Regions from separate parts of the Homo sapiens genome. Here all the other regions are linked to region 6. The links are contacts of gene promoters, found by promoter capture Hi-C in blood cells and fetal thymus (Javierre and others, 2016). All regions are on one chromosome and are shown on one strand. Each heading gives the region's core, a stretch centred on a gene start or on the middle of the fragment in contact. The rest is flanking DNA. Distances are from core to core; before and after follow the strand shown. Region 1 has its middle 17 kb from the start of LINC02707. Region 2 has its middle 27 kb from the start of ELF5. Region 3 has its middle 12 kb from the start of LINC02707. Region 4 overlaps EHF (ETS homologous factor). Region 5 has its middle 9.1 kb from the start of ELF5. Region 6 holds the start of SLC1A2 (solute carrier family 1 member 2). Region 7 has its middle 16 kb from the start of EHF.

The links. Contacts are between HindIII fragments. The CHiCAGO score rates a contact against its expected background, and 5 or more counts as called.
Region 1: a fragment that was not itself captured here is called in contact with the fragment with the promoter of SLC1A2 in region 6 in 7 of 17 cell types (naive CD8 T cells, naive CD4 T cells, total CD4 T cells and 4 more); the score reaches 12.0 in naive CD8 T cells.
Region 2: a fragment that was not itself captured here is called in contact with the fragment with the promoter of SLC1A2 in region 6 in 2 of 17 cell types (activated CD4 T cells and non-activated CD4 T cells); the score reaches 6.1 in activated CD4 T cells.
Region 3: a contact is called between a fragment that was not itself captured here and the fragment with the promoter of SLC1A2 in region 6, in 6 of 17 cell types (total CD4 T cells, activated CD4 T cells, non-activated CD4 T cells and 3 more). The highest score is 7.5, in total CD4 T cells.
Region 4: a contact is called between a fragment that was not itself captured here and the fragment with the promoter of SLC1A2 in region 6, in 1 of 17 cell types (activated CD4 T cells). The highest score is 7.2, in activated CD4 T cells.
Region 5: a contact is called between a fragment that was not itself captured here and the fragment with the promoter of SLC1A2 in region 6, in 2 of 17 cell types (activated CD4 T cells and non-activated CD4 T cells). The highest score is 8.1, in activated CD4 T cells.
Region 7: a fragment that was not itself captured here is called in contact with the fragment with the promoter of SLC1A2 in region 6 in 1 of 17 cell types (activated CD4 T cells); the score reaches 6.3 in activated CD4 T cells.

Annotation. Positions count from the first base shown.
Region 1 is chr11:34,586,187-34,590,112 of GRCh38, forward strand. No RefSeq gene overlaps it. Among named protein-coding and RNA genes, the nearest start is that of LINC02707, 17 kb to the left of the region's middle. The HindIII fragment of the contact is 3,589 bases long and covers 119-3,707 here.
Region 2 is chr11:34,538,912-34,542,867 of GRCh38, forward strand. No RefSeq gene overlaps it. Among named protein-coding and RNA genes, the nearest start is that of ELF5, 27 kb to the left of the region's middle. The HindIII fragment of the contact is 3,200 bases long and covers 525-3,724 here.
Region 3 is chr11:34,557,497-34,561,074 of GRCh38, forward strand. No RefSeq gene overlaps it. Among named protein-coding and RNA genes, the nearest start is that of LINC02707, 12 kb to the right of the region's middle. The HindIII fragment of the contact is 4,398 bases long and covers 1-3,578 here.
Region 4 is chr11:34,623,554-34,627,045 of GRCh38, forward strand. The region is part of intron 1 of EHF (ETS homologous factor); the gene reads left to right. Among named protein-coding and RNA genes, the nearest start is that of EHF, 4.2 kb to the left of the region's middle. The HindIII fragment of the contact is 2,895 bases long and covers 542-3,436 here.
Region 5 is chr11:34,520,894-34,524,814 of GRCh38, forward strand. No RefSeq gene overlaps it. Among named protein-coding and RNA genes, the nearest start is that of ELF5, 9.1 kb to the left of the region's middle. The HindIII fragment of the contact is 6,939 bases long and covers 1-3,921 here.
Region 6 is chr11:35,418,229-35,421,992 of GRCh38, forward strand. It overlaps SLC1A2 (solute carrier family 1 member 2), which reads right to left and starts at 1,330. Exons shown (of 11, transcript NM_004171.4): 1 at 722-1,330. The coding sequence starts at 738. SLC1A2-AS2 (SLC1A2 antisense RNA 2) reads left to right here and starts at 829. Exons shown (of 2, transcript NR_186310.1): 1 at 829-879; 2 at 2,308-2,774. RefSeq lists an enhancer at 976-1,476. The HindIII fragment of the contact is 13,046 bases long and covers 1-3,764 here.
Region 7 is chr11:34,603,335-34,606,986 of GRCh38, forward strand. No RefSeq gene overlaps it. Among named protein-coding and RNA genes, the nearest start is that of EHF, 16 kb to the right of the region's middle. RefSeq lists an enhancer at 288-582. The HindIII fragment of the contact is 5,828 bases long and covers 1-3,652 here.

The DNA.
Region 1 (3,926 bases), core at 663-3,162, 830 kb before region 6:
GAGATGAGAGACAGCTGAATTACATAAAGTTGAGAAGATCTGAGTTCTAGTCTTGAAATTCACAAGCCATCTCTATACAATAGTTCCGTTACTCAGTAAAGTAAAAGCATTGGATCTAAGCTTTAAGGACCCTTCTAGTTCTTTCTGATTGGAATTGTGTGACTTCATCTTTTGTGGGTTAGAAACTCATCACTCTGTCCAGTTATTTCTATATTATGCCACCAGATGGCAATGTTTCCTTAACCCCAAAGAAAGTTTTCATTCTGGTAAAAAGTCAAGTTTTGTTGCCAACTTTTCCCCCTCTGAACGTGCAAAAGAATGATTTTCCGAAGCTGTGGAGGAAAGAAAGAACTCTCCTTCTGAACATCTCAGGTGGTTTATGCTGGAAACAGACAGGACCCTGTTTAGAGAAGATCTCTCTTTTCTTCGTGGACTGGGAACTCCAGTTGGAATGATGTCTCCTGTGATTGCGTATGGTGGGAGGTGGGAGATGTTGGAATTGGCGTGTCCTCAGGAGGCTTGGGGGTGGGGGAGATGTGCCCTAGCTGGTGGGCCTGCATGAGCCCTGCAAAACTCTGACTTATAGAGGGGCATCAGATGCCAAGTTTTACCAGACCATGCAGAACTAGGAATTGCCAGATGCACTCATAGGGCAGCTAAAATGGTCCTGGCAGAATCAGACTCTTTCGCTCATAAAGGTCAGAGACGCAAGAAAGCGACATAAAGTCCAGCCCTTTTCTTGTGCAGATGGGGAAATTGAGGCCTAGAGCAGGTCAGCTGTCCTGATTCTATCTCCTTGCCAAGTTACTTTGTATTTAAACATTTCAAGTAGACTTTTCAATCATCTCATCTTGCTGTGTTCAGCTAGCGCACCTTGTTAAGCCTGTTGGCCTCCGGGCCTGCCAAGCCCCTGCATCTATACACACCAGGGCATGCTGCATGCGCTCAGTGAGACTTCAACAGCTGACTGATTCGTTCAAACCTATCAAACAGCAGACTTAGCTAGTTGGGGAGAAAAGTCATTTAAAGTAATTGCTTATTAATCTGCAAAACAAGTCTCATAGCAGGTTTTTATTTTATTTTATTTTTTTTTTTGCTTTTAACAACGATATAATAACAACAAACATTTGTTTAGTGTTTCCTGTGGACCAGGCTCTGTGTTAAGCACTTAACATCACTATATCATGCACTTTTGCTAATAAAGCTGTGAAATAGTTATTACTATTTCTGCTTTACAGCTGCAACAGAGACTCAGAGAGGTTAGGTAACTTGCCCCAGGTCACAGAGCTGGAAGGAGCAGAGCCAATATTCACACCCTGATTTGCGTAATTCCAGATTTGATCTTCTAGCTTCTATGCTGTGCTGCCTCTTCATGACAGTTTTTCTCATGTACAGGATCTGATGCAGAAACTTATCGGAGTTTCTTACCGGAGCACCAGTCACCTCTCATCATTTTCCTGTTTTGACGTGAAGGCTCAGTGATAGTGAGCAGGCTCAGGGTCTACAGAGTTGGTGATATCAGCATCACACAGGACATTCAGAATGTTGACTCCAGGGATGTTGAGAGATACTCCTGCACAAAGCTGCCAGCACCCGTGTCCAAGAAACACTCAGAATCTAGGTCTCCTTGTATATTTTCCCCACTACCTGCAAAGGTAAAGAGGAACAGGCAGTGCTGGGACCGAGGGAGCGACAGTCCTAATGGAAGCTAGTGTGTTGAGAGTCTCCTCTGTGTCATGCTCTGAGCGACATGTTTTATATGCACGATCTCATTTAGACCTTGTGACAGCATGTTGTAGCAAGGACCCCATCATCACAGGGGGCAAATGTCTGCAGTGCAGAAAGTCGTCCTGAAGAAATGGATGTCAGATAAAAACAGTCTTCATAAATCAATGATCCTGTTTTACCTCAAAAGTGCATGAAATGGAAATGGAAATATCTTGTGAAGATGTAGACAAATGACGGTCATTGCCCAGAGCAGTAGTTACTGTCAGAAAAAGAGATAAGGATTTCCAGTCTGACAGACTGGATTCCTGGCTCAACACCACCCCCTTCTAACCATGTGACCTTGGGCAAATTACCTAACCTTTTCTGAGTCTCAATTTCCTCATCTTCCAAAAGGGGATAATATCATATATGTTCCAAGATTGCTGTGAGTATTAAATGAGATGATGTATGTAAAGTACCTGGCCAGCAGTCTCTGGCACATAGTAAGTATTCAATAAAGACTAATGGTGGAGATGAGTATAGGGGCTACTAATGCCCATCCTTACTCCAGAGACTTCTTTCTGACCATCATGAGGCACTTTTGAATATCTAAACCCATTTAAAGCCCACTTTTCTCTATGGCTGGCCATTTCTGCCTATTGACAGCTAATTTGCCTCATCCTACAGGACACCTTCCATGTTTCCCCAGACTCCAGAAATCAGGTATTAAATTATCAGGGCTTCAGGAGCCATGGTCTATGATGAGTTTACTACCTGTGCCCAATAAATGTTTAAGAAATAAATAAGAGCCAATATAACTATAAAGACCAAGAGCCAAAATAAGTCTCTTTGCTTGCGCTTTAGATCTTAAGAGTCCTTTATATTCAAGCTGCTCAGAGTCAAACGTGTGCCTAATAAACATTCTACAAAGGTCCTGGCGTGGTGTGACCAAAGGAAGAGAGAGGGCTCCAGTGTCTGTCACTGGGAGACCAGATGGACAGCCACGTGGGGCAGGGCCACTGGTGCCACATGTCCAGGTCTGTTAAGCCCTATGAAAGACACTTGAGTCAAAATGTATTTCTATCTAAGAAAGAAGACTATAAATGGAAAAGGGAGAGGGGAGAAGACCTCTCAAGGGCATCTCCCTCTAGAAGTAGAGATTGTGAATCTGCAGCAGAAAGGTTTTAAACAAGGGATAGCAGAATGCCTGGATGGTGTTCTAGTGCCTGAATGGAAAAAGGCCACAATGACCAACAAATCCCACCTACATCCGCCTTCCTCACTGCCTGAAATCCCACCATTAGGATTTTTTTCCTTTTGGGTTAGCAACCAAGAAAGAGTAAAGTCTGGAAGACTCTTATTCCACATCTTCACTTTGCAGCGCCTCTTTTTTTTTTTTTTTTTGAGATAGAGTCTTGCTCTGTCACCCAGGCTGGAGTGCAGTGATGCGATCTCAGCTCACTGCAAGCTCTGCTTCCTGGGTTCACATCATTCTCGTGCTTCAGCCTCCCGAGTAGCTGGGACTACAGGCACCTGCCACCACTCCCAGCTATTTTTTTTTGTATTTTTAGTGGAGACAGGGTTTCACCGTGTTAGCCAGGATGGTCTTGACCTCATGATCCGTCCGCCTTGGCCTCCCAAAGTGCTGGGATTACCACCTCTTCTTAATTACAAACATAAACAAAAACTAACAACTTTCTAGTTTTTTCTTTTTCTTTTTTTTTAAATTACAAAAGAGATCCATATTCGTCAGAGAATAATTGGAAAAAAGAGATAAGCAAAATCAGAAAAATAAATTCAGCCTGTAATCACCCAGAGATAACAATTATTAAAATTTAGGTATTCACTTTGTTATTTCCTTTTATAACAAAACTTTTTTTTCTTGTGAAATTTAATAGAATACAATTGAACTATTTTTTCCTTTATGGTTAATGATTCTTGTTTCTTATTTAGGAAATCATTTCCTGAGTCATAAAGAATTCTCTCATATTTTCTTCTAAAGCTTTATACAGTTTTGCCCTTCAAATAAGGTTAATAACCCACCTAGAATTGATTTCTGTGTATGGCATGCAGTAGAGACAAGTTCTACTTTTTTCTCTCAAATGAATATTCAGTTGGACCAAGGCTGTCCTTTCTCCACTACTTTGCAGTTTCACTTTTTGTTGAAAAATCAATTGTTCATACATGGGTAGATCTCTTTCTGGGCACTCTTGGAGTCT
Region 2 (3,956 bases), core at 875-3,374, 880 kb before region 6:
ACGATGAACCCTACTGCTTAACATTGCTGTGAAGATTAAACAAAATGATGGAGAATTAGTCTAGCGCTTGACATGTAAGAAAAACTTAGTAACAGCTGTGGTTGCTATTATAAATCAATACAAATCTACTGAACATTTAGTAGGAGATAGGGCAGAGTTTTAGGAATTGACTTCTAGGTGGCTTGAGGCAGCATCCAGACCTCACCTTGACCCAGTGTACATTGTTTCATCATTTCATTCATTCACTCAACACATATTCATTGCCTGGCTACTATATAGAAGCTACTGCAGCTTTCACAGTCCTGGTGTGGGAATCATGATTAATGCCGGGAAAATAGTTTGTAGTTTTGGCTGACTGATGGGTTAGCATTCTAGACTATCTATTTCTTCACTAGAATTTACTTTGCTAGCTCCCAGCCCTGTGGTCAGGGACAAGGGATCCTTTGCTTCACTTTAGGGGAATGCTAAAGGTGAAAATAATACTTCTGTTTCTGCTATTTCTTAAACACAGCGACTGTAAAGGAAGCTTAAGAGAGAAGCATATGGGTTCAGACAATACTTTCTGGCTGGTAAGGAAAGAAACCACAAGGATTAGCAGGTACACTGCACTTAACACACACACACACACACACACACACACACACACACACACACACACACACACATATATCAATAACAAGCCAGGAACTTAACTCTTTATGTACTGGGCTGAAATTCAGTATTCATGATCCATAGCCTTTGATTGGTAGTAGTAGAGTGTTCAGTAAACATATACATATATATATTTTGATTTGTAGGTATTTTGTTCAGAATATAGCACGTTTTGCCTGACTCCAGTTGGAGAAGCATTGGTTATATGCAACACTTTGTCTGACTGTAAAGTAGGATTCTGTAAATAGAACTTTTCCCCTTTAAATTCTTTTTGCCCATTTGATTCTTAGAACTTTTTGCCCCGTAGATTCTGCCCAATTTTTGAATGGCGAGCATCCTAAAAAACTCTGGCAGGTGGTGGTTCAATATGCACAACACTTTGTTGAATAGTGGTTTAATGTTGATTGATTCTAATTTTTTCTCTAGTAAACCTGAGTGCTATTAGCATTTTGGGGAGGACAACTTTTCTTTTTGTGAGACTGTCTTTTGCATTTCCAGTGAAAGCCAGTAGCACCCTCTAGTTATTACAACAGCTGAAAATGTCTCCCCCTTTTCTAGAAGCCCTGGAGAGGGACTGTACCAGCCCCAGTTGAGAATCACTAGCTAATACTGTATGTCTATAGTAGGTTTCCTTGTTTGGCAATGGGGGTCCAGCCTAGAACTTTCCCCACTAGTGGGGAAACTCCACAAACCCTGCACAGACCCATGTCAGATTTTATTCCCTGTTGCTTTTGGTGCTTGAGGACCGGGCTTGACCCTTGTGGATTCTCAATAGATATTTGTACCTGGTTGGTGGAAAGCGTATACATATAGTAATTATAGCATTAATGTCACATAACTTACTCAAACTGAACTGCAGAGTTTTTGTAAGCAGAGGTGATATTCAAAATATTTGACAAATAGTACTCGCGCAAGCATGGACCAATCAGAACTTATCCTGGAGATTCTGGAAGCCCCCCCGATGGAACAGGCAACTTTTACCAGCTGGCTTGTGGGAAAGTCCAGGGGGTTCCAGGGATAGAAGTCAGGGAAGCAGGGCACAGTGAGAGATGGCATGTATTTGTTAAAATTTTAGCAGCCAGCAAGGCAATCCTAGAACATGCTTCTGAATATTAGAAGACCATTTTGCAGAGTGCATTACACAGAATGTTTTCAGGACACCCTGATGAAATTTCCTTACAAAAGGTTTTCTGGTTTCTAGGCTTTCACCACTTATTTTTCTAGAATTCTTTTCCCCTTGCTCAGTCAGTGGGAGTCCAGATTATTCAAGAAAAGCATGAGAAAGAATTAGGATTCATCCGGTACTTCATGGGAGTAACACACAAATGTCTGTTCCTCATGAGCTCAACCGAGGTTTGCTACACTCACAAAGCCTTCTACCCTCTCTGCTTCTGCCCCTGAAGCTGTGACCTTTGGAAGAGTAGTTCTCCCTGTGAGCGTCCTAAACTTCAGTCTCCAGAACTTGGCTAAGCAATTGCTCCTGAGGGAAGGAAGGGCTAGTGACAAACATTCGGATTGCAAGAGATCGGGAGCTCTAGAGTTTAGTTCTGCTTCTTCTCTTACCAGTTGAGTAATTTTAGGCAGACAGAGAAAAAGTACATATTAGTGTTGGAAGTCTGTGGGCAAATCTCACAGCCTCTCTCAGTTTCAACAACGATAGAATAAGGGATCTGCGCTGACTGCTCTTTAGAGCTCATCCAGCCAGGAGTTCTCGAGTCCCATCTCCTTTGACTGTCTCTGGGTCATGGAGGTGGAAGACTCATTCCTGTTTCAGTCTCATGCTCACCGTTCTGGCTGCTGGTCAGCTCCTCCCTCACTTACATGGCTGGCACCTTCGGGCTCTACATATGGGAATCTAGGGCTTGGTCCACTCTCCTTTGGTGTTTGCCAAAGGGTCTACTGGGCGGTGGGGCCTCCAGCCCTAGGCCTTAGCTTAGGGGGTCTCCCATGGGAAACTATGGCAATGTCTCTTCTTTCCTCCTTTACATTCACTCCTGCACTTCTCTCCCTATTTTACTGACTCTCACTCATGCTGTTTCTCTTTCTCTCTCCTCCTCTCACCTCATTTCCTTCTTCACACCCTTAGACCTGGGCCCTACCAGCTCACCTACTTCAACTCCACGGAAACCAAAATGCTAAGGTCCCTGTCTCTGTTGTTAGATTGCTGTTTCTTTCTCTGGGCCCTCAGGAAAGTTACTTAACCTCTCCTTGCCTCAGTTTCCTCATTTATAGACATAATATGAATTCCCAGTTTGTTGGGTTAATTAAATGAGATGATCCATGTAAAGCTCTTACAGCAGCATGTCCAGCAGATGGGAATTGCTCACTGCTAGTGATTTCTTTTCTCCCCTGCAGCAAGTTGATTTGGCTCATGAAATACATATGGGTGGGATAAAGTTAATTATCAATTTGCTCTGGGAAATTTGCATTATTTTTCCTTCAAGCATTTAAAAAATAGATGAGCGATTTGCTAACTTAGTTTTCTTCTTAGATTCAGCTGCCATTCCCATCTTTTCCCACAAGCACACACATACTTCAGTTTCCCTGAACTATTTGGGGTTCCCAGACTCATTGAGCTATGTTATGCCTCTTTGCTTTTGCATTTTCCTGGTGTGTCCTTTTGGCAGTCTGTCTTTGTCTTGGTGGTGATGGGACAGAGAGACTTCTTGTCAATGGATGTTTCAGGAATTGGCTCACATGTCACCTCCTCTGAGAAGCCTTTCCTGACCACACACCACCTCCTTCAGGAAGCCTTCCCTGACTGCTGCTTCTCTCCACAGCAGAGTTAAATGCTTTTTTTGTGCTTTGTACATATATTGTCACAGGGCTTATACCATGGTGGCATCATTATATCTACTTACTTGTCTCTTATTCTAAATGCAATCCTTGAAGGCAGGGACTATGTTTTATCTATCTTCTTGTTCTCAGCAGCCAGTCCAGGTTTTTCTTTTTTGGCATAGCAAGTGCTTAGTAAATGTTAAATGAATGAAGAAGATGGGAAGAGACCTTCTAATACCGCAGTAGAGAAGTCACAAGTCATTGTTCTAAAGGACATTCAGTTTACTAAGATAGAAGCTTTTCTGTCCTATTCTTACCTTAGGCACAATTTTAACAAGTTTTTTTTTGTTTTAACCATAGCTGATTAGAAAGAACAGGTTAGAAGAGGTGGGGAAGAAGCTGTTAGAGGTAAGCATACTGAAAGCAGAAATGACACCTGACCCTCTGATAGCGATAAGAACAGTGAAATTACAAAACGCACAATTGAACGCTCAAGTATGGGCTTGTTTCACGTATGGGAAGCAAAT
Region 3 (3,578 bases), core at 568-3,067, 860 kb before region 6:
ACATTGGAATGAGAACTCTCTAAGCACTCATGTCTCTATTATATTGATGCTTCACACAAGGGCATTATTGGGGGAATCTAATTTGCCTCTAGAACCATGCCTTTAGGGGTATATTGATTTTTTTTCTAGCTCCTGAGTTACAGAGAATGGGAAATTACTGCCAACAGTCCTATTTAGCACAAACACTGCAAATGTCACCTTCCCTGGTATATTAGTCAGGATAAGTTCTGCTATGCTGTAGTCATAAACAACCTTAAAATTTCAGTGACTTAATAGGACAAATGTTGATTTCTCACTCACCAAATATCTGGTGCAGGCTGGGTGACCTTCCTCCTTGTTATAGGCATATCATCTTCTAGAACAAATGACCTTCAAGACATCAAGGCAGGAGAAGAAAGAGAGAGATGGAGCAGGCACAGGTATCATTAAGCACTTCAGCTCAGGAGTGGCACGTGTCACTTATGCCTGTAATTTGTGTCCAAAACTAGTCATGTGGCTCACCTAGCTGTGAGGCAGGCTGGGAATACTGGGAAGCACATGGAATATTTGGTTAGCACTAGCTGTTTCTATTACTCATGGTAAAAAGAGGAGGTGTTTCGGTTTCAAGCTGGGGTGAGCCTGGTTCTCAATCTTTCTTTCCTTCTCTGAAAGTGCCAGAAGACACAGATTTTAGAGCTTCTCCAATGCCAATCTGAACACATGGCTTATTAGGTGTTTTGGAACCATAACCTGTAGATCTGTGTGGCATCTTTGGAGAATCAGCAAAAATGTTCCTTCTCTATAAATAACTCTCTGACTGATCTAATTTGGCACCTAAAATTTCCACCATTAATATGCTGTTTTTGAGCTACCTTAAGGATATGCATATTTCAGTAGGTAGGTTAAGCAATGAGTCATCTTGGATTATACTGGCACACTTTCAGGGAGCAGCATGTGGGATGAATGTGCTGAAGGCATGTATGGAGGGATGAGAAAGGAAAATTGGTGTTAGGGGATCGTCTGGATCAGCAAGAGGGCTCTGGGGACCAGAAAGGAGAGGACTGGATACCCCAAGGGAGAAGAGAAGGAGGCTTCATAAAGATTCTACACATCCCACCTTTGCCAAGGCCTGGATGTGCTGGGTCCTCCAGGGCACCTACATCTTTACCCAATCTCGTCCAATAAGGTCACAGATTCTCTGGACTGAGCCTGCTTTTAGAAGATAAACTCAGAAAGATCCATCCAACTAAAGTGTAGCGAAGAGAAATGAGGTTGAAATGTATTAGTTGATTAATCTCCCCTGGCTTAGAGGGCAGCAGGTCTGCCCGTGGGATTAGAAGATGGATTTTAAATCCTGACTCAGCCACCCACTCACTGAAGTTCCCATGGACTTGTAAAACAGCCATGTGACCTCAGGCAAGGCGCTTAATGTTGCTGCACCTCTATTGGAAGAATTCAGTGAGGAATGCGTGATAGGGCCAAGGTAGAGACTTAACAGATCCAAGCTCAGCATCCCTTCCCATATTTATTTCTGTAAAATAAGGTGTGTGAACCAGATCTTTCTCTAGAGTCCTGGATCTCCATGGTTTTCTTAAGGGACAGAGGAGATGGGGAGGAGGCTGATTGGAGAACAGCATCTGGACTCTCCAGTCTTGTTTAAACCTGAGAAATCCCAGGTAAGATTTAGTTCGGAAAAAAAATGTGTTTTGCTGTGAAAATGAACTCTGAAATCCTCTGGAGTGGGTGATCACCAGAATTTCTTTTCACTAACACATTACCATCCCAAGAAATAGTAATGTTTATGAAAATGCCTTAAAATGATAACACACTATACAAATGTAAAGCTATATTATTGTCACTATCATTTTTCATTGTGGTTTTAGCTTGAATTTTGGTTAGAACAGGTCATAGTATCAGCCTCCATAACTCTTCCCAATAGCTCCACTAAATTATTGCAAAGCCCATTTAAAGTGAGATTGTTCAGAATGACATGAGAGGCTCCTATCTTTTCTTAGGAAGGAATGTATTTTTGCAGTTCATCTCTCAATGCATTTATTGATATTACCATATCTAATATAGTGATAGGGTGTTTCTGTCTGTCTCTATCTGTCTCTGTCTCTCTTAAAAACAAGATTATTGACAGGGCGTGGTGGTGCGGACCTGCAGTCCCAGCTACTCAGAAAGCTGAGGAGGCAAGATCGTTGGAGCCCAGGAATTCACGACCAGTCTGGGCAACATAGTGAAGCCCTGTCTGTAAAAATGAAAACAAAAAGATTATCAAGGTGTTGTTTCAAAAGCGTTTATAAATATTTTACCATTTGTATAAAATTTCAAACCATACAACTAATGCTAAATATTGCTAATGGATACTTGAATATATGATAAAATATAAAACAGGTGTGGAAATAATGAACCCACAATTCAGGAAAATGCTTAAAACAATTCAACATCTGGAAACCACTCATGGCATGGAGTAGGTACTCAATAAATACTGTTAAATAAACAACTGGCACTTTTTGGGGAAGGTGGAAGAATAAAAGTAAGGGAGGTGTGCTGAGACTTCAATTTTAATATCTTATTTCTTAGGTTGAGTGTTACACAGGCATTTGTAATCATATATACTTTTGTACACTTGAAATATATATATTTGTGTGTGTGTGTGTGTGTGTGTCAGAGTCTCACTCTGTCTCCCAGGCTGGAGTGCAGTGGTGTGATCTTGGCTCATTGCAACCTCCACCTCCCAGGTTCAAGAGCTTTTTGTGCCTCCATCTCCTGAGTAGCTGAGACTACAGGCAAGCACCACCACACCGGCTAATTTTTGTATTTTTAGTAGAGATGGGGTTTCACCATGTTGCCCAGGCTGGTCTCAAATTCCTGGCCTCAAGTGATCCAGTCACCTTGGCCTCCCAAAGTGCTGGAATTACAGGCGTGAGCCACCATGCCCGGTCTGAAATATTTCAAAATGTAAAAAAGCTAAACCCAAATCCAGATGTCTACTTTCAAGGTGCTCACAGGTCAGATCTAGGATTATTGCTACTAACTGATATTTATTATCCCAGCACCAGCATGTTTGGCTGTGTGTCATGGGTAAGTTACTCACCTTCTCTGCGACAGTGTCATCATTGTAAAATAGGGATAAAAGAGTTTAGACCTTGCAGAGTCCTTCAGATTAAAGGAGATAATCAGTACGTGGCACTGAGTACCTGCAATATATTAAGTGGTGTGTGCTCAGAGATATGATCACATACAGTATCTTGGATCTGCCCAGCAACTCTATGAAGATGAGGAAACAGACTCAGGCAGGTCAGAGCCAGAACATAATGTTTCTGGAATTTGAACGTAAACGTTCCCCTTTCTCTTATCCAGGCTGAGTGCTAAAGGAATTGTAAAAATGGAATTTGCCTGTTGCCTGCATCTCCCTCTCTTTTTCTTCCTCTGTGTCCTCTGAATATCTAGCACCAGTGGGACTTTACAGTGTTGGCCTCAATGCTGTAGGGTGCTGTGTGCACACTTGTCTTCAGCTCCCTGAGTTAGCAGAGCATTGCCCCAACTCTGCCCTCTGGCCAGCTCATGTGCCTTACAACTTTCTGTTGCCAGAA
Region 4 (3,492 bases), core at 739-3,238, 790 kb before region 6:
ATCTTTCTGACTCCTTGAAGGTATGAGACAAAATGGAAACTGAGAGGTTAAAAGGTTTACTAGGTTGCATTCAATTAGCGAATTGGAAACTGGAAGGAGCTCCTATCGGGTCTCAGGTCAGAACGTGAGTGCTTTTGGCCAAAGTTCACTTCTGAGGAAGTAGAATTTCGCTTTCTGGAATCTTGCGATATTTTATTTCCTCTATATCTTTCCCATGCCCCCGACCCACCCAATCTCCACAAATTTGGGGATTTGAGCACTGGGTTGTGATCGTTAGACCATCTTGCTTTTCTGAAAGCCCAGGGCAAGACCCCTGCTTCATGTCACAGTATCAAACACAGACATAGAAGCTTGTACAAATTATTGAGAAGTTATTGTCTTTTCTCCCTTCCTCCATATGGAGTCATCTCTATGCCCTTTCATACAGATGTGATTTACGAAGACCTCTGGGTTAGGGGTGGGGTGGTGAGCAAGAATCCCGTGGCAGAATCTGCTAACACACTTGAGAAGCAATGTTGTGGTTTTAAGGAACTCAATCTAAAGCTTGAACCTGATTTTCAGGGATACCATTTTGCTGCCGTTTCAGCCCATTTCTCTTGTTAAGATCGCTCTCTGGTAGAGTTGACGTGACACTCATTTCTGTTGTGGGTGGGGCCCTGGTTGGGAGGCATTGGCTCCACTGCAGCCTGGGTGTCTAGAGACCACATTCTCACCCTGCCTTTGTTACTGGGAAACCGAACGCGGCGCTGTGGCTTTCAGCTTGGGTAAGCCGGGTCTGCGGCGGGGATTGCCATCTGAAGACAGAGGCAGGAGGGCAGCCACACCTTGCCCAGGTTCTCTTAAATCTCTTGCTCTATAACTGAAAGGAGGGCATAGATAATTAACTTTATTTGACATTTTTCATATCTAATTTTTAAGAATATGATTTTAAAATAATAGATTTGTTCTAAAGAGCAAACAATCTTGCTGTTATTAAAAACGTGTTTACTTAAATTGAACGGGGTTTCAAAGGGCCAAGCTACTAAGCTGTGCAGGAAACAAACAGTGCAGTGAGGAGAATGGCTCCTCACCACAGCTATTCTTAGGGTGGGACATAGTTTCAAGCCAAATGACATTGATGTCCGGAAACCAGGATGTGCTGAAGTAGAAATTTCCAGGGATCCCTCAGAGTTATTTGCTAAAATGTTTATTATTCTTCAGAGGGGGGTGGAAATATTTCTTTAAGAGTCTTCCTTGAAGAATTTTGAACTCCAGCTTTGGAGTGATGGGAGCACAGTGCAGGGAAGGCGGGATGTGAGGTGGTGTGCTGGACGGCAGTCTAGGGACCTGGTCTAGCACTGGCAGAGCTGTGTGTCCCAGAGCACACATTCCCCTTTGCCAGGCTTTAGTTTCCTCCTCTAGGCAAAAGGGTTTGAACCTGACCATCTTTAAGATCCATTTTAACCCTCAGATTCTGTGGCTGTGGTGATTGGGGGTGGTGGGAGTACCTGGGGGTCAGCAGGATAAGCACGAATCTGTGAGAGCTGAGAACAGGTGGGAGAAGCCTTCTAAGGATGAGGCAGGAAAGATTAGCAAGAGCCCTTAAATGGATTCTTTAGGGCCTTCAGAATTTTGGCTAAAGGCTATACTAGTGGAGGTACTAAGACCTGACACCTGGAGCCTTTATTAAGGATGTTAGAATCCACTCCCATGACAACATCCCAGCTTTGCCAATTTGCCTCATGTGTCTCAAGCTGGTGGGAATGTAGAAGTGGATGAAACAGACTGTTTTGTGATGGCAGGGAACAGCCTATGCACAGGGGCAGGTGCTCTACTGGTGTCTTCTATAAAACGCCAAAGCAGCCCGCCAGAAAATGGACATTTAGGCACTCGTGGTGTCTACTGAGTTTGTATGGTACTGATGAGCTTGCTTGACTGATTATCCATGACTTACTGAGTAGATCGAACGTATGTGGACTCACTTCTCCTAGAGGAAGACCCTGTGGCTGCCCCAGCCACTGAGCAGCCTAACCTGGAGACCCTGATGTGCCCAGAAAGCGTCAACCTTGTATCTGGAGAAACCAGAACTTGCAACAGGGCCAAGCAGGGTGGCCCATTTAAAGAGGCTCCTAGGGTTTTAATTGACCTTGTTTTAAAAGAGACACCCTGTAAAATACTCCTATGAAAACTTATTTCACAAGCACCTAACCGCATTCTGTCTTTGGTTTGTTTTACGGGGCCGGGCCCCTTGTTCTGGTCAATTGGTCTGCATTATCTCTCCTCCTCCAATCTCACCACACACCCTGGCCTCTGGGAGGCTTCCTCCCTTCTTTTTTTTTGTTTGTTTTGTTTTTTTAGCATCTTAGTTGTTACTAGGGGTACTTGCCTACTTATTTAAAATATGGCCAGTATAGGTGCATACAAAATGTGCTTTCTGATTAAAACAAAGCCAAAAATAAAAAGAAACCAAAATGCCTATTATAGTAGTTGGATTTTTAGACTAACAGACCACCTCATTAACCCTGTCATTTTACCATAACAACTTATTTTTATCTTTGTATGACCTTGTCTCAATGTCCTTTTTCTTTGATGTTGTTGCAATTATGAACATCAAATTTCATAGCTGCTTTTCCACCCCACTTTCTATCACAGAAGCACAATAAATAATCTTGGGGGCTGGGCTCTTGTTGGCCCAACTGTGGCTTCAAAACATTTCAGTTGCCTGTCCAGCCCTTTCTTAGCCTGATACAACATCCCCCAAAAGTCTGTTGAGCTTTTCCTGGAATAAGAAGAGGGTCTTCTACTTTTTGAATAGAGCAATGGAGATTGGAGAATATGGTCATCTTGTGGAGGTTATTCCAGGCTTCTTCTTAGGAACCTTAAAAAAAATCTCCTCAGTAGGGCTGATGATATATTCTGGACAATAAGGTGAGCAGAGTCTGAAAGATGAGAGCAATTTTCAATCTTGTCATGATTTCATCTAGTCAGCCTCATTTCATCTAGTCATGAGGCTGACTAATGATAAGACTTGCTTTGTCTTTGCAGTGTACTCTAGATTTGACTCTAAATTCAGCCTCTGTCTTGATCATGCCCACTTAGAAAATTAGAGTGCAGCTAGCTCACCTTTTAGTCATCTTAATTCCACTAGGCAGAAGGCTGTGGGTCAAGGAATGTTGATGGAGTAAAATTTGACTGCATGTGTATCTGAAGGGGTAGGAGGCTAAGAGATTTTATGGCTTGGAAGCTGCTGAGATGTGGTGTAAAGAACACTGGACTTAGAGTCCAGACACCTGAGTTTAAGCTGGACTCTACCACTGGGTAGTTGAATGACTTTGAGTGAGTTATATAAGCTCTAGCATCTAAGTTTTCTCATCTGGAAAATGGAGTTAATAACATCTACTGCATTGGGCTGTTGTAAAGATTAAATTAACAAAGAATGTGAAAGCACCTGAACAAAAGCTTGTGAGTAAATAATTAGTAATTTGTGGAATGAACATCAAGGGAAGTCTTCAA
Region 5 (3,921 bases), core at 717-3,216, 900 kb before region 6:
TGTCCAAATCATACACTGAAATTTCCTGAGTTTGGTTCTGTTTGGGAACTTGTTTAGAGAAAGTCTCTGTTGCAAACACAGAATGGTATAAGAATTTAGGTATTATGCTTTTACAAAACTATTATGAAGTTTTCTGATGTGTCACTTTATTACAGAGTTTAACATCATATCTCAACAGAAATCCAATGATTCTGGTACTGACACATCCAAGGGGAGAGGCCTCAAAATTGAGAAGCTGCCAAGACTCACCCACAGGTTCATGTCAACATGGACTCACTTGTACCCCAAGCCGTAGGCCTAAGTGGGCTCCCCTTAGAACTTGTCCACCCCTAAGGTAAGTGTCTGGGATTGGAATTTTTGGAAATTATTGTGAAGCAATTGGACAGGTGTCTTCAATGTCCTGGACATCACTCTTACCCACATCCCTGTTCATGAAACTATGTTTTAATTCTTTCTCAATGTGTGAAGGGAGATGGGTAGGATTCTGTTTCATGTTGTATGGACAGTGATATCTCTCTGGTTCCAAAGAACCAGTGAGATGTGGAACTTGGCTGAATATTTTTGAGTGATGCAATAATTTAAAAAGATATCCATGGTTTTGCAAGGAACATAAGCTACATAAGAAGGCAGTTAAAGAAAAACCAGTAACAGAAAGAGCACTGGGATTTGAGTCTAATTGATGTAGGTTCAAATCTCAGTTCTATCCCTTGGTAGCCAAGTTACTTATCTCCTTGAGACTTGGTTTCTTCATCTGAAAATAAATTGTCACTTCATACAGTTTTGGTGACAATTAAATGAGATAACATGGTATATGTAATATATGAAGCACTTAGCCCAGTGCCTGGCATATATTAAATACTCAATAAATGATTATTACTGTGATGTCTCCATTTCTAAATTAGCAAAATGAAAATAATATTAACTACTCACTAGATCAATTGAAATAATAAAGGTGTATGTGTCTGGCACATGGTAGATATTCATTCATCCATTTTTTCATCTTTAGTTTATTTGGAATCCATCAAAAGTTTACAAACCCTGGGAGTTAGGAGAAGGCCACTTTATTTGGCCAACAGTCCTCTTTCATCTTAAATGGAGCAGTAGTTTTATAAAATGTTTATTTCCTTATCTAAACTGTTCTTTTTCCCCCGGGCCCTTATGTGCCTTTCTGGGAGCAAAGAAACTCCAGGAATCCCAGCAAATCACTCTGCAGAGTGGCCAACAGGTGTGACATCAGAAGTCCTAATAGTGGGGCTTTGGTGAGTTTGCCTTTTTGAGGTGCCCATGGGAGAATGGATGCTATCTACCTCTACAGGAAGGAAGCAGCCACTTGGTGTTTCTGGCTTTCAGGCTGTATCCACCCCAGGTTTCAGCTGTCATTTTGGGCCAAGTTAAAGGCAGAGGGCAGATTTTGCACAAGGCCCTCTGAAGTGGGGAATAATTTGGGTCAAGTGTTCCAGCTAGGGTGAGCAGCAAGTTGCACAGTCAGCCAGCAGAAAAAGGCTGTGTGTGGAGAGGCCTGGTCCAGGCACTAATGATTCAGGTAGATTGCCAGGAAGGGCAGAGGCAACCAGGCTGGCTGTGCCTGTTCCACAGTCTCTGGGCAGTTTCTCGGCCTTCAGCTTCACTGTGGGGGAACCTAGCCTCGGAGTGTTACTGGATACCCACCTCCCCACTGATGCCTGATCAAATTTAAATCAAACCTGCAGTTCTGGGCCCTGAAAGTTCATTTTTCCTACCCAGTGCTGAGTGAAGTTGACTTTAGGCCAGACCAAACAATATTCAGGAGGAGCCCTACCCATTCAAGATACTTTGCAACTGACAAACATTTTTAAGGTGATGGACATTTAAGACAAACCATGATAGGTCTGGAGATAAGATTTGAAAATTTGGCTGACAGTTAGCAGCCAAGGAGGGCATCTGCAGGTGGAGTTTGCAACTAGGAACTCTATAGACTCTAGCTAATTATTGTACAGATATAGAAAAGCCTCTTTTTTGGGAAAAGGGTGATGACAAATCCAAGGTATAGTGGATAAAACAGGCACAATTTCAAGTCCAGCTGAATAAACCTGGGCAAGCAGACACACACATGCATGTGTGCATGCTGTCAGTGCTACCACATACACTTCCATCCCTCATACAGAGAGTTCACCTAGCACCTAGACACACCCCCTACATCCACCACACTCTCCCCACAGACACCCTGTCCTCCCCACCGTACAGACCAACCACACACAGCACAGACCCCTCCCTCTTCTCCCATGCACACATCATACACACAGCCATCAGATAAACACAGTCCCCTTAGGAAGCCGATTAATAAAACTATTTTATCTATAATTACACTTGACTGATAATAATGTCCTCAGAGCCTGCATGGTTAGATTGGCTCAGATTGTAACATCCAGATTACAGCTGAACTCCCTTTGAACTCTGGCCACATTGCTGGTCTCTCCAGCTCAGAGATTACAGATGGCTTTAGGTGGATTCACCCCACGGAACCAAGAAGGTAAGTAGAATTCCAGCTCTCCTTGCTTTTCTTTTCTCTCCAAGCCTGTACAGATGATGCGATCTCTGAAAATACATGGCCAAATACAAGAGGAAGGCCGAAATCAAATAACCTCCTCCAACCCACCCTTGTGTATCCTGGTGGGTCACCTTGCAAACCAGCGTCAACCTCAGATTCCACAGAGGAGGTTGCCTGGAATGCTCTCTTGAAGACTGACATTTGAAAATAATCAGTTTAATTTCTGGGTCTTGGGATCTTGGGGACGGACTCCAGTGAGCCATAATTAACTCTTTAAAGTCTTCACCGTGTGCTGCAAATAGTAAAATATCTTATTCTTTATGATGTAATGCTGAATGGAGGCAGCAAGGAGGCTTTTCAGGCTAATTACATGTTGGAACGAGGTTAATGACATGCCGGAGATTCTTTGCGTGGCTACCCTGACATTGACAAGTCAGTCGGTAACATGCTAGGGCTAAAGACAGCGACTACTTTTAAAGAAGGCATGCGTCTGGAAACAGCTAGACAGGCCCCTAATCTGGCCCCTCTCCTGTCCGCCACCCCCCCGGCCCCGACCCCACTTCCCATTTTTCGGGAATTAAGAAATCTTGATTTTAAACTGGCGTTCAATACCAAGGGCCTGGAGATTTGGATCGGCATCCTCATGAGTCTCAGCTCTATCTTATGCTTTTTACAGCAGCTGAATTTAGCCAAGGATGCAAACAAAAGTCCACTATCTAAGCGGATGTTTTTGGGCTGAGCAGAAGGCACGTCTGTACAGACAAGCAAGGTATGCATCAATATGAATGACTGGATCACAGTAAAATGCCCAAGACACGGGAATGAGTTCTGATTCTAGCCAACTGAATGAGCTCACATTCTGGTCCCACTCTGCAGGTGGGCACACTGGCATCTCAAAATCATGCAAGGAGACCCGACATCTGTTTCCATTCTTCTACCTGGGGCCAGGCCATACGTTAGCCACATGCAGAGCTGTCTCCAAGAGACTCCAGCCCAAGCTCCAGTGTGCCGTGCATAGCTTTGTGACTCCCGGCATTCCCTATCTGGATGAAATTGGGTAAAAGTAAAAATGCATCACACAGGCAGACTAAATAGGAAAAAGTAGCTATGAAAGATGGTCCTGCTTCCTAAAGAGGGTTGTCCCACCCCTTAGGAGGGCATTGGGGGCTGGCTTGCAGGCTAAGGTGTAAGGAAAAGGGCCTTAGTTTCCTTGCCACTTGCTAGGAGAGCCATCTCTTCTTCCTCCCTGGCAGATGGCTTGGGGCAAGGGCAGCTTTGCCCGCTGGACCCCAGCATTTCCTCTCCCCCCAGGTGCCCTTTCCTCTCCCTGCACACTCAGACCCGCACAGCACCCACCTCAGCTCCTTCGTCCCACCAGGCTGGGCTGGACTCGG
Region 6 (3,764 bases), core at 80-2,579:
CCCATGCCAGCTGGAATCTTGGGAGGCAGGACACGACTCCAGATCCTCGGGCTGAATAGGGAAGCCAATGCTATCCCTGCCCGCTGGAGTCTGGCGACTCCTGCCCTTGTCCCAAACCACACGTTTTCCCGCCTCCCGGGAAGCACCCAAATCTCTTCCACCCTTCCTTAGAGCTAGCCAGGGAGATTCCGCCTTCCAGGGACAAGGACCGATCGGAGCGGGCCCAGCATCTCCATGGCGACTCTGCAAACCTGGCGTTCAAGGCCGCGCGCGCTGGTCCTTGCCCCGCCCCAGGGCCCTGTCTTGGCTCATTCCTTCCGAGCCGGCACCACCTGCAAGCCCGCCTCGGGCCTGGGGCGCCGCGCTCCAGGCGCTGCTACCCCGGTGTCTGCTCACACTATGCCCAATCCCCTATTGTTTTGAAATCCCAAAAGTAACCTCAAGAGGATTTCTTCCTCACACTCTCAGGCCCCCAGCGCACCTTACCCTTTTTATCAAAATAAAACAACCCTCCACCTCTCGCATTTTCAAAGGATTAAGCAGCAATCTCCAGGAAAGAAAATCAATCCCCTCCCCACCATCCCATCCCCAGCCAAGCTACGGCTCCGCCACCACCTCCGAGGCCCGCCGCCGCCGCCTCTCTATCCGCATCCCGGATAGGGGCGCCACCACCCCGCGCGTGACCCCGCTTTCCCGCGGGTACAGATAAAAATCCCCTCACCCTTCCGTAGATGCCATGGTCTGGGGAACGCCCCCTCCTCTTCAGCACTATCCGGCAGCTGTGGGCGAGGGAGAAAGCGGACGCCGGGGTGAGCGCGAAGTGCGGCCGGGAGCGGTATTTAAGAGGAGCCTCTGCCCGCCCTTCCACCCGCCTCCGGGGTAAGCCCTTTAGCGCCTCAACGGGCGCAGGAGGCTCCTGCGGGCGCTAATCCGCGTCCCGGCTCTCCACGGCGCGCGACCCGCGCTCCCCTCCGCCCGCGGGGATGGCGCTTGGCGGGGAGCTCCGGGGGCTCCGAGGGTGGCTTCCCCGAGAGAGCGATGCGCCCAGGGCTGCAGGAGGGCGCACGCCGGCGATGCGCCCCTGCAGCCGCTGCCACCTGTGCTTTGCTGCGGGGCTCGCGGGCGCGGCGAGTGGCGGGAGCAGAGAGTGGTGGCAGAGGACGGTGAGCGTGCGTGCGCGTGTGCGGGTGTGTGCGCGCCTGGGGAGGCGGTGGAGGCCGCTGCGCTCTGGCTCGGCGCCGGCCAGGGAGGGATTGCAAGGTTTAGCCCCGCCGGAGCTGGGGATTTGCAGGCGATCCCTCTCTATTTTCGTCGAGAGCTGACATCACCCGCGCCGCCGCCTCGGGCAACTCCTTTAACCGCCGCCCCCCGCCCCCATCTCCAGTCGCGGTCCCTCCTCTGCCATCCCTCCCCCCAGCCTCTCGCCATAAATTAGCCAAATAAGAAAAGAGGCCCCGCCGCTCGTCCGGGAAGGCTTGGGCAGCCGGTGGCAGGAGCCCAGGATCTAAGGAGTAGCTATTGTTTCCCCTGAAGCCCGCGTGGCCCCAGGTCACCCCGTGCGGGGTGAAGCGCAGGCGACCGCGCGGAGACCCGGGATGCCCCTCCGTCTCCGCCTCCCTGGAGCAGCCCCTGGCGCTCCCTCCTCACTCCCCGGAGCACCCGCTTCAGCTCACACTCACCCCCAAACTCACAGGCAGGCACACCCACCCCATCCTCCCACGTCTGGGGGTCCCAGGTCCAGCGGAGTCGAGCGGCTGAAACACGCGGGTGGTGCAGCCTAAACGCGGCCCAGCTGCGCTCCCTCCCCCGCCGAAGCTCGAATAAATCTCTGGCCTTCAATTATTCAGCGAGATTAATATTAATGCAGCTCCCTGGGGGCGGCGGGCGGGGTGCAGGGGAGGCCGGGATTTTTTTTTTTTTTTTTTAGGCCGAGAGAGGTCGGCCTCGTGGGTGCCGGCTGAGAAGGCGCGGAGAGTTGGCCGAGGGGTGAGTGGCGGGGGACGGTTCTCCACCCACTCGGCGCTGCTCGCCGCCTGCTTCCGTGTCCCGGGGGCGGCGCACAGAGACAGATGGGCTTGTGCAAGGGAGAGTTCGAGCCTTCCGGACGCCTTTGCATAAAAATGACGAGACCTGTGCAGCTTTGATTATCTCTGGAATACTGCAGGAACCTAGGGTCCCACTACTTGCCGACCCTGTGAGCGCAGAGCAGGCAAAGCCTCACTTTCCTCGTCTAGGCAATGGAACCCAAAAGAACTCACTTGGAGGGCCACAGGAGAATTAAACAGACTCTCTTTTTCCCCGGGGTAGACGATCTTCGGATTTGCGCTGTGCTGGACCTTGTTAGACGATGGAACGCGACCGGCCACGTGCAAACTCTCTGAGTAGGTCCCGGGGATGGTGCCAGAGGAGCCGGAGTCCCAGCAGGACCGATTGGTAGTTAAATGCCAGGCGCTGATATCCGAAGGCTTGAGTTCTTCACCACCTTCTAGCTGAGTAACCTGGGGCAAATTCCTCCATCTCTCTCTTCATCCCACCTGTAAAATGGGACTATCTTCTCCCACTTCTCTGTGCTAAGAGAACTAAATGAAATGGAGAGGATATGTAAAACTCCTAAAGTGGCGTCTGGCACCCAGTAAACCCTCCAAAAATATTCAGTGCATTTTCAGAGTCCTTAGAAGATAGTTTATTGGACAAAATATCCAAGTATGAACAGACAGATGAGAAAAATAACAAGAAAAAGAGGGGAAAACACATTAATAAAATTTAAAAAATAAATCTCTGCTTACCTCCTTCCTTTACTCTCCTTTCCAAAATCTGAATCCAAACGTCATCTTCCATCCATGCCTTTCTCCATCTCTCCCCTCCCCCCTTCTCTCTCAATCCTGTCTGCACCATTAGAATAATCATGTCTGTACCTTATTCATCCTAGGTTCCTTCAGAACCACTCTAACTTTGCATTTTCTTTATTTAAAAAAAAATGCCATAAGCATCTCTTCGTCTTAGGGCATTTGACTTTGGGTACTCTTCTCTTCCGAAAAATTAGTTATTGTTTAACCTGGTAAATGTGTTTAAAAATAATTTGTAGATGAAGAGCTATCTTCTTTCACTTTGGTATTATGTTTGACACTCTCCTCTTAAGCCCCGTCAAGGGTAAGTGTGTGTCTTTGTATCTGAAGTTGTCACATATACAAACTTTACAGTCTAATTGTCTAACTTTACAAGTTAGGGTTTTCTATTTCCCTTTCTGCTGAGGTGGCAACTGGAAAAGAAGCCATCACAATCTGTCCCAGACCTAGATATTAATAATCGCAGGAGCACTAGTCTGCTATTAGCACCCCCCTTAACATGAGCATGAATGAACTACTCCATCACAATCCCTCAATCTCTGCACACAGGCTTCAGGGGCTGAGCTGTGCCATTCATTCACGCTCACTGCCAAGAGCAAGGTACCTGGTGGTACATAAATACAAGGTAAAAGGAAACAGAAAAAGGGATGGAGTTGTTTTCACTCTTTTAAACATTCAATTTAAAAACTCTTCATTATGTTTTCAATGCTCAGGACATGAGAGAATCCAGGTGAATCATCCAGCATGGCCGAATTAGATGGAGTCATCATTCCAGTTTCCCACTTTCTCTGTAAGCCCTGACATCCCGTTCTACACGTGAGAAACATTTGCATTCAGCTGCCCTGGAAGACCAGGTCTATTAAGTCACATGGACTATGCCACAGATAATTCTGGCTAACAAACATTAGCTAGAAGAAA
Region 7 (3,652 bases), core at 216-2,715, 810 kb before region 6:
TGCTCAACTCCAAAGCCTGTGTACTAAACGACACTTCCTGCCTTGATAAGATAATTGTGGTTGTTACTTGGCCAAATAAAGAGCCTATGGAGAAGTTGTTTCCAATGAAGCATATCAGCTTCTAAATCTGGCTGAACATTGGACTCTCCAAAGGGGCACAAAATACAGCTTTCCGGGCACCATCTTGAAATGACTGATTCAGCAAATTGGTCGTAGGCAGCGAGGCACCTGTAGTTTGGTAAAGCTCCCAGGTGATTCTGATAATGAGCTTGTGCAGAACCCATTTACCTAAGGAGAACGCGGGTTCAAAGGGACTGGACGGCTCTTCCTTATTTAGAGTAGGAGGCTGTTGGCTTCCGAGAATGAGGGCTAATTAACTTTGGGGAGCTTCCTGCAGTGACCTTTGCCTTCGGGGAAAGTGTGGGGATTGAGATAAGAGAGAGAAATCCTTGGCGGCTAGGAGGAAGGGTAGGGTGTTTGCTGTCAGGCTCCAGGCTTAGCCCTCGTGGTGTCCCTCCTGGAGATGGTGTGCACTGAGTGCAGTGGCTGCTGGAGAGTGGGTGGAGAGATGAAGGTGACAGGGGTGGGATTAATTAAAATATCAGGCAGTGTGGCTGGGCGCAGTGGTTCACACCTGTAATCCCAGCGCTTTAGGAGGCCAAGGCAGGTGGATCACCTGAGATTGGGAATTCGAGTTTAGCGTGGCCAACATGACGAAACCCTGTCTCTACTAAAAAAAATGTAAAAATTAGCTGGGTGTGGCGGTGCACTGCAATCCCAGCTACTCGGGAGGGTGAGGCATGAGAATTTCTCAAACCCAGGAGGCAGAGGCTGCAAGTGAGCGGAGATCACACCACTGCACTCCGGCTGGGGCAACAGAGAGAGACTCTGTCTCAAAGAAAAGAAGCAGTGAACCTTTAGATTATCCCACTCTAAAAGTGAGGCAACCTTAGTTTTTCTGGGTCTTTAGAAGCAGAAGTGCCCTTGGCTATTTCTAGGCTGAGGGCCCCACCTAGTTCAAGCCTTCTAAACATCCAGTGTTTTGCTATATTCATTTACCACTTGTCCTATTAGACTCTTAGGTCTTTTTTTTTAATGACTCACTTATTAAAGAATGTGCATTTATTTACAAGGCAATAATATCACTACCTTTAATGGAAAATTAGCAACCCTGGCTACACCTAGAAGGTAACTGTTAATAAATAGGATGAAACCCAAGGCTGGAATTAACTTCTCATTGGATCCTGCAGCCTATGCTCCTTTCACTGAAGGGTGATATCAGCCAACTGAGACCTCCTCTAAAGTCTGTGAAGGATTGAATTAAGAGAATTGGAAAGGGCACACATTTCTCATGATGTGATTCAATATTGATTAATTCCAGGTTCACCTATTATCTAAAACCATGTTACTGAAAGTGGCTTATAAATACCGCAGCACCAGAATGTAAACTCCACAAGGGCAGAGTTTTTGGTTTTGTTTTGTCTTTTAAAAATCTGTTCATTGCTTTATTCCTAGACTCTGGAACAGTACTTGGAATATAGTAGGTGTTCACATATTTATTGACTACGTGGACTCTTTTTAGACTGAGAAGCGGAATATAAAGTCAGAGGGTCCGACTGGTGATCGAATGCCTTCGTTCTGTACTCAAGCCCACTCACCCACTTAGTTTTGAGAACTCTGGTGACCCAACCTACAGCCTGTCCCACCTTCAACTTATTCCCATTCCTTGGGTGCACGTGTTGCTGTGAGGATCAGATGAGGTCATGGATGGGCAGGACTCTGAACTGCGTGCCCTCTGCACAGGGAAACGGCTGGGCCGATTATAAATTGCAAAGGGGATGCCTGATGGTGGCCCCATGACTTTTCATATGCTTTGGGCTGTTGTGAGAGAGAGTGCCCAAAGCCTGATTCTGGAACATTTTCTTTGCTGTCTTCTAAATGAGAACCTGCTTGCTTCAATTCTCCCACTGAGCAATCATGCTGACATGAGGGAGGTGGAGTCAGACCTTACATTGTTGAGACCAGATTCTGTGTTCTACGAGTATTGGGAAGGGTGATGCAGGCAGGCACCCACCATGTTCCCTGTGAGTGCTTATTTTTAATAAAAACCTTGGTATACTGCTATTAATGAAAATAATAATAATAATAATAATTACTCCTGCTAATAATATAAGGAAACACCCACTGGTCTGTGACTGAGCCAGCCTTGCCTGAAGGCAGGGGAATGAATTCAATGACCTCTTGACACTGGTCTCAGCCCTTTGGTTCTATTACCACCTTGTAAACCTGAGGTTGTTCTGTTTTTATCCCTAGGGAGTTGTGGTTAGAACCTGCCAGAAATTTCTCACTATGAATCAATCTTCCATTGGTCACTGCCCTTTTCAACATGCCTGTCATTCAAGACTTACGATTTCCTAGGCATTGACAGAGAGAAACTGGCCATGTGGACCAAGGCAGTGGGATTTACGTGACACCCGCCAAGCCGGTGGGGCTAAGTTCCATTGCTGAAGTCTGATACCTGTCATCTGCTGTGGGGTGACATCCACACCATGTCATTCTCCATTCGTTCAATACATATTTGTGGATTCCTAAAATGCCCCTGCTGCTGTGATAGTCCAGCTCAAGAGAGAGGAAGTACATGAGATGTTACCACACAGTGTGGTATGTGCTGGAGAGGTGAAGACTCTGGAGCAGAGAGGCAACAACTCAGGTGGGGACTGAATGGTGGCGGGGTGAGCTCATCAGGAAAGGCCCCCCCAGGGAAGCTGTGTTTGGGCTGGGGTCTAAGGATGAGCAGCAGTTAGCCAGGGAAGACAAGGAGTAAATGTACCTAGGCATGTGGGGCAGTCTATGCAATAATGTGGGGAGGAAGCAGAGAGAAAGAGAATGGGAGAATGGCCTGCCTGTTTGGGGAAATGAAAGGAGCCAGTATGTAAAAATCAGGTGAGAGACAGCTGGAGATGAGGCTGCAGAAATAGGTAGGTGCCAGGTCACAGAGGGCCTTGTGAATAGTATCATGGACGCTGGACTTTACTCCAAAGGGCATGGGAGCCATCAAAGGGTGTTGAACAAGGAGATGCACATTATAGAAAGGCCAGGAAGGCCTCTGGGATCTCCTCTTCTCCAAACTGTGGCTCTGGGGACAGCTCCCTATAGTGGTCTTGGGCAGCACCAAACTGGTGTTTAGGCTCAGCTCACATGCAGCTCACAGCAAGATGGTGACAAATGACTCATCCTCAAACAACAGAGCAGGCATAGGAAGGAGGCCCCGGTTAGGATCTTGCTTACCTGGTTTGCTGGTGGCCTATGCATTTAATTGTAGAACAGAATGCCAAGCCACTTTTTAACCTTTCTTCTACACCATGCCCTGCACCTCCCCTTCTCTCTCTGCTCTTCTCCCTTCCACCCTCAAATTTCTAAGCCATGTCCAGGTCTCGTTTTCACCTGTGCCAGAGAAGATCTATCTGACTTTGGCCATGGAAGAGGTATAGCAGGTATCAGTTGGAGAGGGCTGGAAAAGCTCCCTGGTGCTAGATATGGACGACCTGAGCTTCCAGTCCTGGCTCTTGCAGCCACCAGGCATTTGACATGGGCAGAAGCACTTTTCCTCACTGAGCCTCTGTTTCCTCATCTGTAAAATGGGAATCATGGT